7 separate regions of the Homo sapiens genome follow, and all the other regions are linked to region 1. The links are contacts of gene promoters, found by promoter capture Hi-C in blood cells and fetal thymus (Javierre and others, 2016). All regions are on one chromosome and are shown on one strand. The core of a region is centred on a gene start or on the middle of the fragment in contact, and the rest is flanking DNA. Distances in the headings are between cores, read along the strand shown.

What was found. Contacts are between HindIII fragments. The CHiCAGO score rates a contact against its expected background, and 5 or more counts as called.
Region 2: a fragment that was not itself captured here is called in contact with the fragment with the promoter of CCDC59 in region 1 in 4 of 17 cell types (non-activated CD4 T cells, naive B cells, naive CD4 T cells and 1 more); the score reaches 10.1 in non-activated CD4 T cells.
Region 3: a contact is called between a fragment that was not itself captured here and the fragment with the promoter of CCDC59 in region 1, in 5 of 17 cell types (total CD8 T cells, total CD4 T cells, total B cells and 2 more). The highest score is 13.8, in total CD8 T cells.
Region 4: a fragment that was not itself captured here is called in contact with the fragment with the promoter of CCDC59 in region 1 in 1 of 17 cell types (total CD4 T cells); the score reaches 6.1 in total CD4 T cells.
Region 5: a fragment that was not itself captured here is called in contact with the fragment with the promoter of CCDC59 in region 1 in 1 of 17 cell types (activated CD4 T cells); the score reaches 9.0 in activated CD4 T cells.
Region 6: a contact is called between a fragment that was not itself captured here and the fragment with the promoter of CCDC59 in region 1, in 1 of 17 cell types (non-activated CD4 T cells). The highest score is 6.9, in non-activated CD4 T cells.
Region 7: a fragment that was not itself captured here is called in contact with the fragment with the promoter of CCDC59 in region 1 in 2 of 17 cell types (total CD4 T cells and naive CD4 T cells); the score reaches 8.9 in total CD4 T cells.

The regions. Positions count from the first base shown.
Region 1 is chr12:82,357,008-82,359,972 of GRCh38, forward strand. CCDC59 (coiled-coil domain containing 59) reads right to left here and starts at 1,380. Exons shown (of 4, transcript NM_014167.5): 1 at 1,216-1,380; 2 at 1-262. The coding sequence starts at 1,369. It overlaps METTL25 (methyltransferase like 25), which reads left to right and starts at 1,522. Exons shown (of 12, transcript NM_032230.3): 1 at 1,522-1,817. The coding sequence starts at 1,559. RefSeq lists enhancers at 1,189-1,749, 1,260-1,819, 1,750-2,310. The HindIII fragment of the contact is 1,548 bases long and covers 1,145-2,692 here.
Region 2 is chr12:101,277,254-101,279,986 of GRCh38, forward strand. No RefSeq gene overlaps it. Among named protein-coding and RNA genes, the nearest start is that of UTP20, 1.5 kb to the right of the region's middle. RefSeq lists an enhancer at 2,551-2,733. The HindIII fragment of the contact is 2,455 bases long and covers 137-2,591 here.
Region 3 is chr12:100,208,549-100,211,359 of GRCh38, forward strand. ACTR6 (actin related protein 6) reads left to right here. Exons shown (of 11, transcript NM_022496.5): 5 at 1,525-1,660; 6 at 1,747-1,803. Among named protein-coding and RNA genes, the nearest start is that of ACTR6, 9.1 kb to the left of the region's middle. The HindIII fragment of the contact is 3,656 bases long and covers 1-2,811 here.
Region 4 is chr12:100,277,491-100,280,295 of GRCh38, forward strand. The region is part of intron 1 of SCYL2 (SCY1 like pseudokinase 2); the gene reads left to right. It also overlaps a transcript of DEPDC4 not described here. Among named protein-coding and RNA genes, the nearest start is that of SCYL2, 12 kb to the left of the region's middle. The HindIII fragment of the contact is 2,998 bases long and covers 35-2,805 here.
Region 5 is chr12:102,070,337-102,073,090 of GRCh38, forward strand. No RefSeq gene overlaps it. Among named protein-coding and RNA genes, the nearest start is that of WASHC3, 9.7 kb to the left of the region's middle. The HindIII fragment of the contact is 2,992 bases long and covers 1-2,754 here.
Region 6 is chr12:100,132,065-100,134,777 of GRCh38, forward strand. All of the region lies in intron 1 of BLTP3B (bridge-like lipid transfer protein family member 3B), which reads right to left. Among named protein-coding and RNA genes, the nearest start is that of BLTP3B, 9.5 kb to the right of the region's middle. The HindIII fragment of the contact is 6,169 bases long and covers 1-2,713 here.
Region 7 is chr12:98,589,405-98,592,216 of GRCh38, forward strand. It overlaps the pseudogene PPIAP8. Among named protein-coding and RNA genes, the nearest start is that of SLC25A3, 2.9 kb to the right of the region's middle. The HindIII fragment of the contact is 4,505 bases long and covers 1-2,812 here.

The DNA.
Region 1 (2,965 bases), core at 130-2,629:
CACTGATCTTCAAATAAAGGCTCGTCAATGCTACACTGTTCTTCAAGCAACGGCTGGTGAACTTGTTCTGACAAAGGATGGTCGACTTTTCTTGCTTGCTTCCTATGTCTTTCCTCTTCAGCTAAATAGAGATGTTTCAGATTATCTGGGTATCGATCTGTGAATTGAGATTCCAGTGACGTTTGAGCCTTCTTTTCCTTCCGTAGCAATTTCTTGTAACTTTGCTGTATTTTCAGTTTTCTTCGAAAAGCAAAGCCTTGTCCTACATTGAGGAATATCATCCAAAATTACTTTCAGAGAAAAGAAGTTGAACGAAGAATGGAGCTGTTAATTACAAATGAAAACTTTTTTTACGTCATCACATTCAGATTCTAGTATTATATTTTGCTTTAAAAAATTATTTCAAGCAACAAATTTAAGCTGATGGATTGCATAGTAAGTTGGCCCTTTGCAAAAAGACCAGGCTAACAGTCATGCGGAAATCCAAGTAAGAATCTCAAAGAAAAACTGACCAGTTCAGACTGTTGCACAACTTGAGTTTACAGCTGTATTCACAAATCAAAACAAATTCCTTAGTTCATCTAAAACACTTAATCTGAGCCTTCAATAAATGCTTAAAAAATAGGAAAGAAAATGCCACATCTAGTATCTTGGACAAACTACATGTTTTCGAAAATGTTTCAACACGAAAGAAAAAGACAGTGTATGGTTGTCTGAAAAGCTAGCAATTATCGGAAGACTGAATTTAACATTTATATATTCCAAGTGGGATCTAAGAGACCTTACAGACAGCAATACAAAATGACAAACACAAATTAAAGCGAAGGCTGGAGGGCCTCGGGTATTTGTAATAAGGAAGAATTCGGAGCAGTGTTTCTGGCCCTGTCCTCCTCTCTATCCTTTACCTTACCACATGCGCAAGAGTTCACAGGGTCATAGACTCTCTCTGCTCAGTTTCTCAGGAAAAATATAGGAAAAAAGTTCTGATGAAATACAGGGTTACGTCAGAAAAGACGTTTAAATAATAGCAACACTGCTCCGTCTTCCTATCTAGAGCTCTGCGAAGCTCACAGCTTTAGCGGGCTCAGGAATGAATTCCCTTGCCCCAAGTAGGACCGGGTCTGGTTCCTAAATCCTTCTTCCAAGCTTCAGCGAATCTTATATCCTAAAACTTAGCAAGCCTGAGGATTTGCAAATGGTTGCCTTCTTACATACCCTCGCGAACGCTCCCCACGAAGGCTTGCGGGTGGTTAGGCCGCCATGTCTTCTGTCTCACATTCTTATTCCTGTACCCGACAGTGGAAACCCCTTCACCACGCGCCTCAATACCACCAGGCCGCCACTTCGCGGACCGCCTCACCGGCGCCATTGCAGCCGACTAACTGCGTCATCAGAAGACCACGACGGACGCCCACAAAATACGTCACCAAGCCGAAGCAATCAATCGCTCAGAAGGAATCCGGCTCGGAGCTCTACTGAGCCTGCCTGTGCTAATTTGGGCCGAGCTGGCGCCTCACGGCCATGTTTGCGCCACCTACAGCCTCGGAGGGTGAGCGTCATGGCGGCTTCTTGCCCTCTCCCGGTGACCCCGGACCTGCCCACGCTGCGTGCCAAGTTGCAGGGACTGCTGCAGTTCCTGAGGGATGCCCTGTCCATTTCCAATGCACATACCGTGGATTTCTACACAGAATCCGTGTGGGAGGAGCTGGTCGACTTGCCACCGGAGACAGTGCTGGCTGCGCTGAGGAAGTCAGCGTCGGAGACGGAGGCCCTGCCCTCAGAGACGCGCCCCCTAGTGGAAGCAGAGTGGGAAGCAGGTGGGTGGTGGGGTAGGCGGGGCGGGAAGGGAGGCGGAGGAGAAGGTCCCGGCAGACGAAGCGAGCCCCCTGGTGGAAGCCAGCAGAACCAGGTGCGTGGCGGCGGAGGCGGGGCGGCCCGCTGGGAAACCGAGGAGGGGTCGGATTAGTTGAGGGGTGGGGTGGGGATGTTCTTTGGAATCAGGATCACTCTTTCTTTGGGTGCTTGTGTATGTCCACAATTTAAAGAAAGCAGGAAACAGGGCAGGGGAGTTCCTTCATCTAGTAATTCCATAATAATTGACGCTAGGGAAACTAGGGGAGCAGTGCTCTCACAGGTTTTATAAATGCCAGCATGTGGTGGAAGATTACTCAACAGTTAATAAAGATAATTTCAAGTGGTGGTAATGAAGTAGAAAATAAAAACAGTGTAATGTGGTAGGGATTGTGTAAGGAGGCTGCCTCAATTTAGGAGGTCAGGAACATGAGAAGGCACTAGCTGCAGAGCCACAGGGAGGGGTTGCAGGCGGTGGGAACCGCAGGCTAGGCTTGGCTCTAGCCAGGTGAGGGGCTGCAGGTGCAGGACGGGAGGCAAGCAGAGGCCAGATGGCACAGGCCTTTCTAGGCCTTGGAAGGATTTTGGATTTTAAGTGTGACGGAAACCCTTGGGATTATTTAGGCAACATAGTGACCTAATTCACATTTGAAAAGATAACTGTGAATTATTTGAAGAATAGACTAGGGCAAAAGCTGAAGCTGAGAGGCCAGTTAGGAGACTACCTCAGTAGTACAACAGATGATTGTATCTTGGACTAGGATGGTATTCGGATAGTCACTATTTCATTTAAAAACTATTTTAAAGTACCTAATATGTGTCTTGAATTTTTGTAGGCTCAAGCTTTTCCTACCCTCAAGAAATGTAGATTCTTCTCAGGCAAGCATATTTTGGAAGTAGAATGATGGACACCAACAGGCTTCTGGGATTTTTACTTTCCTTCTAGACTTCCCAAAGTTACCCTTACTAGTGAACTTTATTCATTGAGCATTCTCTGAATGCAAAGCATCACTAGAGGGACCTCTTATAATAGCACTTGGTAAATACTGTTGTTGTTTTTTTAAGTAATTGTTATTGAAAAGTTAGGCACTTCTTCAGTTTGCTCTCATAATAA
Region 2 (2,733 bases), core at 114-2,613, about 19 Mb after region 1:
TCACGGATGCTTTCGGTATTCCATTAAAGCTTAGAAACTTAGTTTTGAGAGATACCAAAAATCATGTGGTGCAATTCACATCCAATGCTGGAACTATATTACTCTTAAATTTGTCCGGGTCAATGTAAGTATTATAAGCTTTGTTAATTCAACAGACATTCATTAAACAACTCTTATGTTCAAGGGAACTGATGACACAAAGTTGAAAAAGTATAAGGTGTCAGCCCTTAAGGAACTTGTCAGGTAGCCAGGTAGTAGAGAATAAATGGTCATTTATTTATCCACTTAGCAAACATTTATTTCATGCTCTATGCACCAACACAGTATCTTGAAAGACTGGTATTATTGTCATCTCTATTTTATAGATGAGGAAATTGGGTCTCAGAAAGGTTAAGTAATTTCTGAGCTTGCGCAATTATGGTGTCTGGCACATTCTAAGCATCTTTTATCCATTAGCTTATTTACTCTGCATAATCACCACCCGTGAGGTAGCTACTTTTGTTAGCTTCATTTACATATACGGAAATGTCATTCTGAAAGGGTAACTGACCCTACTAATAAATGGCAGAACCAGGATTACCTCCAGACAACCTGGTTCCAGCATCTATGCTCTCAACCACCATGTTCTATTGACATATTGTTAAGCCAGTCAGAGTCAAGTCAGTGTGTGAGGGTCATGTAATGAAGAACAATGCAAACAATAAATGGTCAATATAACTTGTGTCAGTTCTTTCAGTTTCTTTGATTTTTCTCTTCACTCCTTATTGTCCAGTTAACTCCATTACCAAAAATAAATTGCAGAGAAGGAAAATGGCACAATGATGTGGGGGTGATTTTGGCAACAGGTTGGGAAAATATTGCTTTGAGTGGGGGCTTCTACCCTCAGTTAACTGCAGGCTTCTAACTCTCTGAAACGTGCACATTTTAGTGTGGATGAGCTTCTTTGCATCTTTCTGGGAGAAGTTCTACAGCTTTCTTAGATTTCCCTGTGACCCATAAAAGGCTTTTAAAAAAAAAAGACCAATTATTAGCCTACTGAAAGCCAATGGAACATTAGGCACGTCAATATTTTATTATAAAAAAATCTATAAATGCTATGGAGGCATTAAAATATTTAGAACAACCCTGTGGTGACACAGAAAATGTTGATGTGATAATGCCAATAACAATTTGAAAGTGTTATGTTCACTTTCTCAACTCTGATTACCTCCTCAATCCATGCATATTTCACTTCCTTTCTTCCAACTAGACTGTACTTAGCAAGGTCACCAGTGACCTTCACCTTGTCAGATCCAGCAACCACTTCTCTATCCTCGAATTTGCAGTATAGTTGGCCACCAGCTCTGCTTCCATGCCATAACTAGTCTGTTTCTACCTTACTGGCTCTCTTTCCCAGTCGCAAATGCCTCACACTTGAGGTATTTAGGTGTATTTAAGTCACGTCTGCAGCCCAGACTGCTACAGTGAGCTCTGTACAACAATATATCCAATTGTCTACTTAACATCACTCCTTGACTAAAATGTAAGCATCTCAGACCAAGTATTTCCAGTCTGGGCATGGTGGCTCACCCCTGTAATCCCAGCACTTTGGGAGGCCAAGCCAAGAGGACTGCTTGAGTCCAGAAGTTTGATACCAGCCTGGGCAATATAGCAAGATCCCATCTCTACAAATAATAATAATAATAATAATAATAATAATAATAATAATAAAAGAGCTGGGTGTGGTGGTGCATGCCTGTAGCCCTAGCTACTTGGGAGGCTGAGGTGGGAGGCTCACTTTAGCCCAGGAATTGAAGGCTGTGAATATTTTCAAATAATTAATTAATACTATTATTGCCTTTCTCGTTTGGCTCCCAGAACAGTACCTGGTCCACAGAGGACTCTCAAGAAATAGTTGCTGAATGAATGAATGAATGTAAAATGGGGTAAATAATTATATTTTTAAATTATTTTTTAAAATTGTACATATATGTATATATAACTGTACAATTTAACAACATGCTATGTGTAGACATTAAAGTGATGGGAAAAACACCAAACATTAACAGCGGTTGTGCATGAAATTAAAAGATTTTTCTTAAAACTCCTTCTCTATTTTTCAATTTTATTTACAGCGTAGTGGTTAAGAATACCAAAATTTAGAGTCTGAGTGAAGACTGCCAGTTACCAGCTGCACAACCTTGGTTTCCTCTTGTGTCAAATTGGCTTAAAAATATACACAGTACCGGCCAGGCGCGGTGGCTCACACCTGTAATCCCAGCACTTTGGAAAACCGAGGCGGGCGGATTGCCTGAGCTCAGGAGTTCGCGACCAGCCTGGGCAACAAGGTGAAACCCCGTCTCTACTAAAATACAAAAGAATTAGCCGGGCGTGGCGGCGGGTGCCTGTAGTCCCAGCTACTTTGGACGCTGAGGCAGGAGAACTGCTTGAACCCGGGAGGCGGAGATTGTAGTGAGCCGAGATCGCGCCACTGCCCTCCAGCCTGGGAGACAGAGTGAGACTCCGTCTCAAAAAAAAAAAAAAAAAAGTATATATCTATATATAGATATATAGATAGACGCAGTACCTCCTTTGTATTAACATCCCTAATAAGCTTTACTGTGAAATTATGGATGAAAGGATCTTTGCACGATGCAGGTACGTAGTGAGGGACAGTAATGTTAGTTGATAACGATTACAGGTATGTTTTATTTTATAATGAAAATACATTTGTCTTCTAAACCTTTACCGAAG
Region 3 (2,811 bases), core at 209-2,708, about 18 Mb after region 1:
ACAGGCATGAGCCACTGCGCAAGTTTTGGAATCTTAAAACTAAATGGACCCTTAGAGATTATATAGTCAGACATCTCTCATTTTATCTTTTTACTAATATTTCTTCTAATGAAGTTACTGGCCACATATTTCTTATTTCTGAAAGATTCTGAGGTAGTTATCTTTCCTGTCATTTATGTGTTTGCAATTATTATTGTTTGTTTGTTTGTTTTTGTTAAGTCAGGGTCTTGCTCTGTTGCCCAGGCTAGAGTGTGGTGGCACAAACATGGCTCACTGTAGCCTCCACCTCCTGGGCTCAAGGGATCCTCCCGCCTCAGCCTCCCAAGTAGCTGGGACCACAGGTATGTGCTGCCACATCTGGCTGATTTATTTATTTTTTGTAGAGACAGGGTCTCATTTTGTTGCCTAGGCTGGTCTCGAACTCCTGGACTGAAGTCATCTTCCCGCCTTGGCCTCCCATAGTGCTGGGATTATTGGCATAAGCCACGGCTCCAGGCCGAATTCTTATTGTTTGAAATAATGTTAGTAGCTCAGGCTGCCAGTGTGAGGGAGAACAATCTGTAAATATCATCTAGAAGCAAGTGTATTACAGGCTTAGATTACATGACATGGTTGGGTACAATGAAAGTATTTAAATATTTAACTTTCAGAATTTAAGTCCATATAAGCAGCAGTATGGGCAGTGGTTAAGGGCACAATCTCAACCAGGTGTAGTGGCTCATGCCTGTAATCCCAGAACTTTGGGAGGCCAAGGCAGCAGGACCACTTTAGGCTAGATGGTCAACATAGTGAGACTCCATCTCTACAAAAGAAAATTAAAAAATTAACCAGGCATGGTGGTGCATGTGTACAGTCCCAGCTACTGGAGAGGCTGAGGCAAGAGGATCACTTGAGCCCGGGAGGTGGAGGTTGCAGTGTGCCATGATCATTACCACCGGGAAGGTGCTACTGGCATCTCATGGGTAGAGGCCAAGATGCTGTTAAACATCCTACAACGCATAGGAAAGCCCTCTACAACAAGGAGTTATCCAACCCCCAATGTCAATAGTTCTGAGGTCTCAACCTACTGCCTAGGTTTGAATCCTGGCTCTGGTACTTCCTAACTGTGTGGCTTTGAGCACATTACTTTACTTCTCTGAGCTTCAGGTTCCTTATCTGTAAAATGGAATTGTTTTGAGTATTAACACACACACTCATTATACAGATTTTAGAATAGAGTCTGGCATGTAATAAATGATCAGTAAAAATGAGCTGCTGTTGTAGTAATTCTTTTAAACTATGGAGTGAATATTTACCTTTAAAAACGGATACCAAATTTTTATTATGTTTACCATGTAAGTGTGGTGTTTTAAAGTATAAACACAATAAAGATCTTTTGACAGTTATGAATAGTATTATAAATTAACATTTTTCTTGTAATAAAGGGAACATTTTTGTCTTGGTGCTTGTCTTTGTTTCCTACCTTTTTAATTGCTTTAAATTAGTGTTATATTTTTGTTCACTTTTTTATCTTTTTTTAAATAGCTGGGGCTCTCAGTGCACATAGGTATTTCCGAGATAATCCTTCCGAATTATGCTGTATCATTGTTGATAGTGGATATTCCTTTACACATATAGTTCCTTATTGTAGAAGTAAAAAGAAAAAAGAAGCAATTATTCGGTGAGTTGTATTTAATTTTCATGTTGTTTCTAAAGATTAAACAGAATGATATGTGCGATAATTAAATTTGAGTTCTCCCCTTGCAGGATAAATGTGGGAGGAAAACTCTTAACCAATCATCTAAAGGAGATCATATCTTACAGGTGATGCTTAGCTTTGATTCTTTGGGAGGATGGGGCTCTGGGGAGGAACCTTTTACAGTAATTTAAGATTATTCCTTACTTTTAAGGCCAGTCATTGTGACTCACGCCTGTAATCCCAGCACATTGGGAGGCCGAGGTGGGTGCATCACTTGAGGCCAGGAGTTCGAGACCAGCCTGGGCAACCTGGTGAAACCCCACTTCTACTAAAAATACAAAAATTAGCCAGGTGTGGTGGTACACACCTGTAATCCCAGCTACTCGGGAGGCTGAGGCATGAGAATCATTTGAACCAGGAGGTGGAGGTTGCAGTGAGCCGAGATCGCGCCACTTCACTCCAGCCTGGGTGACAAAGTGAGACTCTCTCTCTCTCAAAAAAAAAAAAAAATTGTAAATGTTGTACATTAACATAACTTATGCTACTATTTTTAATTTTATTGTGTTTAACACATAAGTAGAATTCTTAAATCTCAATTTCTTGTTACATTAACTTTGGATGGTATCATACCATCAGGATCCCTTTGCTCCCCTATGTGCCCTACTCCTTTGTATTTGCTCCCTGACTGTGTCGCTGACCCCTGGCAACTACTAATTGGCTTTCCATCGCTATATGTTTGTTATCTGAAGAATGTTAGTTTCTTTTTGTTTGTTTTCTTTTTACAATTTTATTATTACTATTATTGTTATTTGAGGCAGGGTCTCACAGTGTTGCCCATGCTGGTCTCAAACTCCTGGGCTCAAAAGATCTCCCATTTCAGCCTCCCTTAGTAGCTGGGATTACTGACCTGCACTTCGCGCCCCTGAGCTTGGCAAGAATGTTACAGTCTCAGATAACTAGAAGGAGGATATTGAGTGTTACCAATACACAAAAATGGATAAGTGTTGAAGATGATGAATATTCTAGTTATCCTGATCTGATGCACTGTGTGGGTTTCTTTTTGATTTTGAGACAGGGTCTTTGTCACCCAGGCTGGAGTGCAGTGGTTTGTTCATTACTCACTGCATCCTCAA
Region 4 (2,805 bases), core at 284-2,783, about 18 Mb after region 1:
ACTTTGTCATTACAAAATGACTTCTTTGTCTTCAAGCTTATTCTGTTATTAATATTGCCACTCCAGCTTGGTATACTTTCACATTCTTTTACCTGTGTTTTTATACTTTTAAAGTGGGTTTTTGTAAGCAGCATATAGTTAGGTCTTGCTTTTTTATCCAATTTGATAATCTCTGCCTTGTAATTGAAATTTTAAATTATTTACACTTAATGTAATTTATTGATATGGTTGGATTTAAGTCAACCATCTTGCTATTTATTTTGTATTTGCCACATTTGTTTTTTGTTCCTTCCTCTTTTCCGCTTCTTTTTATATTCAGTTTACTTTAGGGTTTTTTTTACTAACTAAATTTTATCTCTACAATTTAGTTATATCACTTTATTATTTTGTTGTTATTTTTATTTTGTTATTATTTGAGGGTCTACAGTATATATCTTTTAACTTTAAATACCACAACCTGCCTTCAAATGATACTGTACTGCCTCAAATATAATGTAAGGATCTTTAAAAAATATACTTATATTTCCCCTCCTGTTCTTTCTTGTTACAGTTTCTTCTGCATATATTATAAACACAATACATTTTTATTATTTTTGCTTTAAATGATCAGCTATCTTTTAAAGGTATTATGACGTGAAAAGTATTTTATATACCCACATCATTTTTTATTTTTATTATTCTGGTTTAAAAACTTTAAGTTTTTTTTGTTTTGTTTTGTTTTGTTTTAGAGAGAGGGTCTTGTTCTGTCACCCGGGCTGGAGTGCAGTGGTGCAATCACAACTCACTGCAGCCTCCACCTCCTGGTCTCAATTGATTCTTCTGCCTCAGCCTCCTGAGTAGATGAGACTACAGTCAGATGACACCATACCTGGATAATTTTTCTATTTTTTGTAGAGATGGGGTCTTACTGTGTTGCCTAGGCTCATCTCGAACTGCTGGGCTCAAGTGATCCTCCCATCTCTAATAGTTTTTATAGTGATTATCTGTTGTTTTTCTGAAGATGTCTTTATTTCACATTGAGTTTTGAAAGTTTTTTCCCCAACCTGTAGAATTCTAGGCTGACAGTTTCGTTTAGCAGTTTAAAGACCTCATTCAGTTGTTCTTTGGCATGTGTTGTTTCTGCCAAATTTGGGGAAATTCTTTTTTTTTTTTTTTTTTGAGATGGAGTCTTGCTCCCTCGCCAAGCTGGAGTGCAGTGGCGTGATCTCGGCTTACTGCAACCTTCACCTCCCGGGTTCAAGCAATTCTTCTGCCTCAGCCTCCTGAGTAGCTGGGACTACAGGCGCGTACCACCATGCCCAGTTAATTTTTGTATTTTTAGTAGAGATGGGGTTTCTCCATGTTTGCCAGGATGGTCTCCATCTTTTGACCTTGTGATCTGCCTACCTCAGCCTCCCAAAGTGCTGGGATTACAGGCGTGAGCCACCGCGCCTGGCCAGTCTGAGGAAATTCTTATCTTTGTTCTTATATGTAATTTACTTGTTTTCTGTGGCTGCTTTTAAGATTTTTCTTTTAATCACTGATTTTCAGCTATTTGGTATATCTATGTATGGGTTTCTTTGTGTTTATCCTGTGTGTGGTTTATTTAATTTCTTGGAGCTTTGTATAGCAGCAGTCCCCAACCTTTTTGGCACCAGGGACCGGATTCGTGGAAGACAGTTTTTCCACAGATGGGGGATGGGAGGCTTGGTTTCAGGGTGAAACTCTTCTACCTCAGATCATCAGGCATTAGTTAGATTCTCATAAGGAGCACACAACCTAGGTCCCTTGCATGTGCAGTTCACAGTAGGGTTCAGGCTCCTTTGAGAATCTATTGCTGCCACCTATCTGAGAGGAGGCGGAGCTTAGGCAGTAATGCTTGCTCGCCTACCGCTCACCTCCTGCTCTGCAGCCCGGTTCCTAATAGGCCGTGGACTGGTACTGATCTGGCGGCCTAGGGGTTGGGGTCTACTGTTGTATAAGTCACATCGTCTTGCTTCTTGGCATGTCTGATAGTTGTTGATTGCCTGCTGAATATTGTGAATGTTACATTGTTTAGTATCTGAATTTTTTTGTGCATGTTATGTGTCTTTCATGACTATTGGGTTTTGTTCTGGTAGGCTGTTTAGTAATTTATGATTACTTTGGTCATTTGATAATTGATTTTAGAGTGGATTTAGATTAGCTTTTACTCTAAGGGTGGCTTACCCCACTATTAAGGCATGGTTCTTACAGGTTTCTGCTGATTGTCTTAGTGGTCAGTGAAGACTCACTACTCTGGCTGATGAGATATCAAATGATTTGCAGCCTTGTGTGAACTTTGAAACTATTCAACTGATAGCTCTCTAGTTTGGTTCTTGCCAGACCTGGTGGAGTGTCACACTATGCATAAGCATGTGTGGGACCAGGGAACAGAGCATGAAGGGGACCAGTTTGCATTTTCTTCAGCATAGCTTCATTCACTTTGAAATTGTATCTCAGAACTTTCATCTACCTCCGCATTCTTGAATGCCAGTTTGTCCCTCCAGCTTCTCAATTCAGCTAGATAGCTACTTGGAATTCTGCTCTATGCTCTGTAGTTTGGAATGTGCCTCTGGGGCAATCCTGGTTCTCTTGTTCTCTTTCTTACTGGGGTCAAAGGCTCTTGCTGCCTGTTCAATGTCTGAAAAAATGTGTTTAATACATTTTGTTCAGTTTTCTAGTTGTTAAAAGCAAGAGGGCAGATTCACTCTTTGTTCCTCCCTCATGGGCAGAAGTTATTTATTCATTTATTTACTTAGAGTAATATTTTTAAATGTATGAAATAAAATGTATAGAAAAAATTGT
Region 5 (2,754 bases), core at 102-2,601, about 20 Mb after region 1:
CCTACATAAGGGCAACAATTTTTTTTTATTAAGGTAGTTCAAAGAACAGATGAAAATGTCAGAAAGTAGACTAAATGCTTTTGATTTTCCATGAAATCTATGCCCAATGCATGCAAAAGGGCTTATGAGTTTGAGTAATGGATATATCATAACGTGTTTTTTAGCTTTTGTGAAATGAGATCTTCAAAGCTGATACACTAATTATTTTGTTGTGTTACTGTGATTAGGTAACAAATGGTTGCTATAAATTAAAGCCATGTTAATAAAAAAAGTTCTACCCACATTTTAAAAGGCATTATTTTTTAAATGTATTAGAAACAAATGTTAATTGTTTTGAAATTCTTTTCAAATGCCTGTTAAATGTTTTTGAATCAACAAGGTGTTAAAATTAAAGAAACTGAGTGTTCTCTCCTGTCCTTGTTGCTGAGCACACTGTTTGATAAAGATATATTGGAACACAATGCTGCTTCTGAGGACTTGACCAAGCTCTCATGAGGAGTATGTGGAAATGGATCATAATTATCATTTTTATTTGGCAAATTTTATTTAGGCTCAGAGCTAAGGCTATTATTACTTGTATGGTATAAAGTTGGGTTAAACTGAGTTTAACTTTTTGAGGTATAGAAAAACATGGAAAATAGTGTAGAGTGAGAACTTTTTCTCTCCTAAAAACTATTAAAATCAGTCTTGGGCACAATACTGCCTCATAACTTCCCAATCAGCGTTTCTGGGACAATGTCAGATTTTAGACAATTACAGAAAACCAGACACAAATGTGCAAACCAGATTTCAATTTCTTCTCCACTGACATGAGATTTAAAACAGCAACAGAAACATTTCTAGGTCAGTGTCAATATGTAGTCACAAATTACCAAAGTAAGAAACAAATTGGAGTGCATGGGTGTGTGATTTTGTGTTTTGGCATGGGAGAGATATTGAAATATTCATAACGTAGAAGCCAAATCATAAAAATGAAATGGGACTTATGATCCCATCATCATTCTGAAAATGTAGGATTTAGCTCTGACATCTTGCAGATTTGTGATATCCTGACTTTTGTTTGCTTCAATAGTCCTAAATAATACAAGTTTTAGAACATAAGTACAACTTTTTTCTCTTTGATGTTTTAAGTGAAGCAATCCTGAGGAAAACTTAAATTTCAACAGAAGAAAAACCATCTTAGACATATTTATAAACAAACATGGAAAAACTAAAACTGGGACATACACACAATGTGAAATATCTCATATTATCATCAGGAATTAGAAGTGATGACCAATAACTAATTCCTCATAAATACTTCCTCCTGTCTTAGTGTAATATAAACATATTTCGAAGAACAAAGTTTACTAAGAAAAAAACAACATTATACGATTTTAAAATAATTAAACACAATAAAGTTTAACAACAAAGTATAAGTTGGAACATGGTCCTGTAGCCTACTTTTAAGATCTAAAAAAAGAAAAAGAGGTTAGAGTTCTCAATGCTTACATAGGATAAAGTACATTTCACTCCTGAAACTAACAGGTAAAGGCAACCCTCTCATTTCTTGAGAATGTCTTATCTTACAGTCACTATATTAATCCACAAATGGAATCACTATTTTCTTCTGAGGATAACACTTCCTGCCTCTTTTTGGCATAACAGTATACAATCATCATGAGTTATCTTTTCCCAAAACAGCTTCCCCTACTAAAAGATAGAAGTTCTATTGGGTATTTTTTTTTTTTTTTTGAGATGGAGTCTTGCTCTGTCACCCAGGCTAAAGTGCAGTGGTGTAATCTTGGCTCACCACCACCTCTGCCTCCAGGGTTCAAGCGATTCTCATGGCTCAGCCTCCCAAGTAGCTGGGATCATAGGCACGTGCCATCACGTCCTGCTAATTTTGTTTTTGTATTTTTAGTAGAGGTGGGTTTTCAACATGTTGGCCAGGCTGGTTTTGAACTCCTGACCTCAAGTGATCCGCCCACCTCGGCCTCCCGAAGTGTTGGGATTACAGGCATGAGCCACTGCGCCCAGCCCTACTGGGTAATTTCATCAGACAACTTTTATATTTTGGTTAAGCCCTTATTCCAGAGAATCCATTTCTTATATACCCAAGCCCAACATAATCATCTCCTTAATTTCCATCCCTAAATAAAACCCACCCACTTCATGCATCAATTTTTCTAAGTATATGACAACAATTTTTGAACACACTAGCCTTAGAGATGATTTTTATATTTCTTGGACATATCCTGAAATGACAAATTCTTGTAAGAGTCACTATTGATAGCCCTTTGGCTATCCTGATGCTTTTAGGAATCCTTGCCCCATCACAGAGATTCTTAAAGAGAACCATGTCAAAATTCCTTGCTCTTTGCTTTTTCCTTTGTTAGTTCAAAATCTTCTTATGAAGGGGTAAACAAAACAATTTATATCATTTGGTTATAATATTTAACTGTATTAAAAAATTGACTAGGAAATTGCTATAAAATTTTTCATCTGTACTTTAAAGCATGTAAAAGTTGAACCCAAACATCTACATGGTTATAAAATTTCACTGAATTCTTTCTTTTAATTACCTGGAACATTCTCCTATCTCTTAAAAATATAATGTTCTTGATTCTACAATTATTTTAAGACACCTTAAGAATAGAAAACTGGAGTAAAAAATATTTACTGGCATTAAACATAAATCTCTAAAACCTCAAAAATAAGACCTACTCATCTCTGAAATAAATAATTTCTATACATCTCTGAACCACGTGACAG
Region 6 (2,713 bases), core at 51-2,550, about 18 Mb after region 1:
TACAGGCGTGAACCACCGTGCCCAGCCACACCCACTGTTAAAAAAATTATTTGTCCTAAGCATACAATATGCAGAATTTAAAACACATGTAATTGATAAGAGATCAACTTATTTAAAAAGTGTTTAAACTGCAGTACTAAAGCAAAGTGTAATACTGCAAAAAAGGAAAATTATTCAAAAAAAGAAAAGAAAAAAAGACATTATGTTTTCCCGCTAGAGTCTCAATATGGTTTATTTGTCCCCACCAAAATTCATGTTGAAATCTGATCCCGAATGTGACAGTGTTGGGAGGTGGCGCCTAGTAGGTAGGAAGTGTTTGGGTCATGGGGGCAGATTCTTCATAAATGGCTTGGTATTGTTCTTGCAGTAGTAAGTTCTCACAGAAAATAAAGTAGTTCTCACGTGCGTAGGTTGTTATAAAGCCAAGACATCCCTCAGGCTCTGCCCTCTTTAAGTGTCCACTTCCCCTTACCTTCTCCACTATGTTGTCATGCAGCATAAAAGCCCTATCTGGAAGCCAGCACCATGCCCTTGAACTTCTCAGCCAGTAGAACCACGAGCTAAATAAACCTCTTTTCTTTATAAATAAACCTATTTTTTGGCCGGGTGTGGTGACTCACGCCTGTAATCCCAGCACTTTGGGAGGCCAAGGCAGGTGGATCACTTGAGGCCAGGAGTCTTGAGACCAGCCTAGCCAACACGGTGAAACCCCATCTCTACTAAAAATACAAAAATTAGCCAGGCGTGGTGGCACATGACTGTAATCCCAGCTACTCCGGAGGCTGAGGCATAAGAATTGCTTAAGCCTGAGAGGTGGAGGTTACAGTGAGCTGAGATTGTGCCACTATTCTCCAGCCTGAGCAACAGAGTAAACTCTGTCTCAAAAATAAATAAATAGGCCGGGCGTGGTGGCTCACATCTGTAATCCCAGCACTTTCAGAGGCCAAGGCAGGCAGATCACGAGGTCAGGAGATGGAGACCATCCTGGCTAACACGGTGAAACCCTGTCTCTACAAAAATAAAAAAATTTAGCTGGGGGTGGTGGTGGGTGCCTGTAGTCCCAGCTACTCGGGAGGCTGAGGCAGGAGAATGGCATGAACCCGGGAGGCGGAGCTTGCAGTGAGCCGAGATCACACCACTGCACTCCAGCCTGGGTAACAGAGTGAGACTGTGTCTCAAAAAAATAAATAAATAAATAAACAAATAAAACCTGTCTTTTAAAATAAATTACCCAGCCCCATAATCTTTTATAGCAACATAAAATGGCCTGAGACATCCCCCAACTTTCAAGAAATGCTGAGTCAAAACATTATGTTCCTCTAACTTCAAAGGACCGCAGAGTCAAATGATTCTCAAGTCATAAAAGAATCTCCTAAGGGATACTACAGCAGGATGGTAAAACAAGAGTAGTGTTGAAAACTGGGTAAAAAGAAAAGCAAACTGTTGAGGTGGGGTGGGGGCGAGTAGGAAACACCTTAATAGGCAGCACAGAAAAATCAATGAAAAGGGTACTGGATCAGTGACTTTACCATTCAACACTATCTGTGAGACCTTGGACAAGTCACAAATGTCAATGTTTTAATAATTTCCTTCTCTGAGATAGGAACAAATCCCTTCTGATTCCAGGATTCTAGTATGCTAATATTGCAACATCTCCTAGACCAAGCACCCAACAAGAATCAGTATCCGGTTTTAGTTGGAAATTAATATGAAAGAGAAAGACACCTGCTATATACAGTAGTCCTCCCTTACCCAAGATTTCCCTTTCCACGGTCTCAGTTACCTGTGGTACAGTACGATAGCTTGAGAAAGAGAGAGATCACATTCATATAACTTTTATTACAATATACAGATATTGTTACAATTTTTCTATTACATATTAGTTTTTGTTAATCTCTGACCATGACTAATTTATAAATTAAACTTTACCAGAGGGATGTACATAAAGAAAAAAACACAATATACATATCGTTCAGTACTATCTGCAGTTTCAGGCATCCACTGGGGGTCTTGAAGTGTGCTGCCCATGGAGGAGGACTACTGTAGTGCATGTACTTAAAAGGATAAAAAAAAACAACAATAGCAAAAAATCCACCCCTGAAAATTCAACTCACAATTCGCTTCCCAGTAATTGTTTATTGCATAAGCCAAAGGATAACCACAAACATACTTCCATTGTTGTCAGACTAAAACATGTATAGTCTAAATTAGATCACAAATAAAAGAGAAGACATCTCCAATTAAATATCTAACATTTGGGCTGGGCGCAGTGGCTCAGGCCTGTAATCCCAAGCACTTTGGGAAGCTGAGGCAGGTGGATCACTTGAGGTCAGGAGTTTGAGACCAGCCTGGCCAACATGATAAAACCTCATCTCTACTAAAAATAAAAAATGTAAAAAAAAATTAGCCAAACATGGTGGCGGCTGCCTGTAATTCCAGCCACTCGGGAGGCTGAGGCAGGAGAATCACTTGAACCCAGAAGGCAGGGGTTGCAGTGAGCTGAGATTGTGCCACTGCACTCCAGCCTGGGCAACAGAACGAGACTCTGTCTCAAAAAAAAAAAAAAATCGAACTTTCATCCAACTTAACATATCCAAAACAAACTCCTGATCTTCTCCCATAAGCCTGCTCCTCCTGCAGTCTTCTCCAATTTTCCGATTTAGTTAATAGCAATTCCACCTTTTCCATTGCTTATGTTGCTTATGTCAAAAAC
Region 7 (2,812 bases), core at 79-2,578, about 16 Mb after region 1:
TGAATTACAATGCAAATTGAATTCCCAATCTCATAGTGTTTAAAGTTAGGGCAATGTTTTGAGACCCAAAATTTTGGAATAGTGACACCTGGGCAGATTATGATTCCACTAGGACCATGAACCCCCATATTCTTTTTTTTTTTCTTTTTTGAGACAAGATCTCTAACTGTTGCTTAGGCTGGAGTACAATGGCGCGATCTCGGCTCACTGCTACCTCTGCTTCCCAGGCTCAAGTGATCCTCCCTCCTCAGCCTCTTGCGTAGCTGGGACTGCAGGGGCATGCCACTATGCCTGGCTTTTTTTTTTTTTTTTTTTTAAGAGACAGGGTTTCACCATGTTGTCCAGGCTGGTTTTTAACTCCTGGACTCAAGAGATCCACCTACCTCGGCTTCCCAAAGTTCTGGGATTATAGGCGTGAGCCACCATGCCCAGCCAGAACCCCTAAATTCTGTTGAGCCTCCTTGTCAGTCAAAGAAGCCCTTCCTCTCCTGTCTGAGGAGGTTATGTTCCTCGTCCCTGTGAAATCTGTAATGGCCTCACCTGAGGTGGTTGCCTGGCGGGATCTGCTGATTCTTCTTAAAACCTACTGTCCACTTTGGGAGGCCGAGGCAGGTGGATCACCTGAGGTTGGGAGTTCGAGACCAGACTGACCAACATGGAGAAACCCCATCTCTACTAAAAATACAAAATTAGCCGGGCATGGTGGCGCGTGCCTGTAATCCCAGCTACTCCGGAGGCTGAGGCAGGAGAATTGCTTGAACCCGGGAGGCAGATTTGAATCTCCACAGTGGAGAGTTATGGTCCTTCAGGCAATTTCCCTACTTGTGTCAGGTTGGAGGCCGAGAGCCTCTTGAATGTTAAGGAGGCCAACCCCCTTGTCTTAGTCCATACCTGCTGCAATAACATCACCTAAAGACGGATAAAAGGATTTTGTATCCTCTTTTGGGTAGAATTAGCTTGTTCACAATTGTCCAAGGGACAGCTGCTTCATGTTAGGTAGAAGTCTGATTTTGCTCTTTAGTTTTTGTCTGGAAGTTAAATATGATTACAAGAGGTGTTCATTGATGCCATGTTGACAACCGATAGACTCTGGTACTTTTTTTGTTGCTGTTGTTAATTAGTTTTTATTTCATAATCATAAACTTAACTCTGCAATCTAGCTAGGCATGGAAAGGAACAAGGAAAACATAGAACCCAAAGGGAACTGCAGTGAGAGCACAAAGATTCTAGGATACTGCGAGCAAATGGGGTGGAGGGTGCTCTCCTGAGCTACAGAAGGAATGGTCTGGTGGTTAAGATAAAACACAAGTCAAACTTATTAGAGTTGCCCACAGTCAGCAATGGTGATCTTCTTACTGGTCTTGCCATTCCTGGACCCAAAGCACTCCATGGTCTCCACAATATTCATGCCTTCTTTCACCTTGCTGAAGACCACATGCTTGCCATCCAACCACTCAGTCTTGGCAGCACAGATGAAAAACTGGGAACTGTTTGCGTTGGGTCCAGCATTTGCCATGGACAAGATGCCAGAAACTGTATGCTTCCGGATGAAGTTCTTGTCATCAAATTTCTCCCTGTAGATGGACTTGCCACCAGTGCCATCATGGCATGTGAAGTCTCCACCCTGACACATAAACCCTGGAACAATTCTGTGAAAGCAGGAACCCTTATAGCCAAATCCTTTCTCTCCAGTGCTCAGAGCATGAAAGTTTCCTGCTGTCTTTGGAAACTTGTCTGCAAACAGCTCAAAGGAGATGCGGCCCAAGGGCTCCGTGTCAAAGAACACGGTGGGGTTGACCATGGCTGATAGCACAGGGCTCCTGGCAGCAGCGGTGCCTGCAAAGCCCAGTGGTGTTTTTTTTACCATGTCAACTTAGCTAGGCTAGAACCACATTTCCTAGATTCCTTTCCCTGCATAGTTTTGGGTTAGGGCTAGCTATAAGAGAAATGTGTGCAGTTTGGAAGGCAGAAGTGGAGCAACAGTCATTACATTCTGAAGGTCACCAGCTCCCACATGGGGTAGGAGCTGGGCCTGCAGCTCCTTCAGTTACCACTGTATCTTCTAGATCAACTTCTGTGAGTTCTGGGCCACGAGCATGTGCAGCCCCATGGTGAAGGGTACCAGCTGTTCCAGCTGAAAAAATGTGCAGCAAAGGGTCACGGTATTACCCGGTGCTGGGGGAAGGGAATAGGAAGATTCACTACAGTCATATATTTTTACATAATATTTGACTTTTTCATGACAAAGGATTTTTAAATTAGAAAAGCACCATAAAGTTGAATTAACCAAAAAAGAGAGAGAGAAAGTCCAGACCCTTCAGTGACTACCTCTGTCTACATAAGATCAGACTCCTCAGTCTGGTATGTGAGGCCCTGGACAATCAGGTGCTAGTGTACTTTTTTAACTTTATCTGTCACTACTTCCCTTCCTGTGCCCTCCACTCTGGAATTCTTCCTGGGACTGTAGGACTTTAGTTGGGCCAGAAGGGCTGGGTCTGGGATAGGGTTGCTTAGAGAGTGCCGTGATGCCGCAGCCTCAATGCTAACTTTTGTTTTTTTGTTTTTTTTTTTTTTTGAGACGGAGTCTTGCTCTGTCGCCCAGGCTGGAGTGCAGTGGCATGATCTCGGCTCACTGCAAGCTCTGCCTCCTGGGTTCACGCCATTCTCCTGCCTCAGTCTCCTCAGTAGCTGGGACTACAGGCGCCCGCCACCTCGCCCGGCTAATTTTTTGTATTTTTAGTAGAGACGGGGTTTCACCGTGTTAGCCAGGATGGTCTCGATCTCCTGACCCCGTGATCTGCCCGCCTCGGCC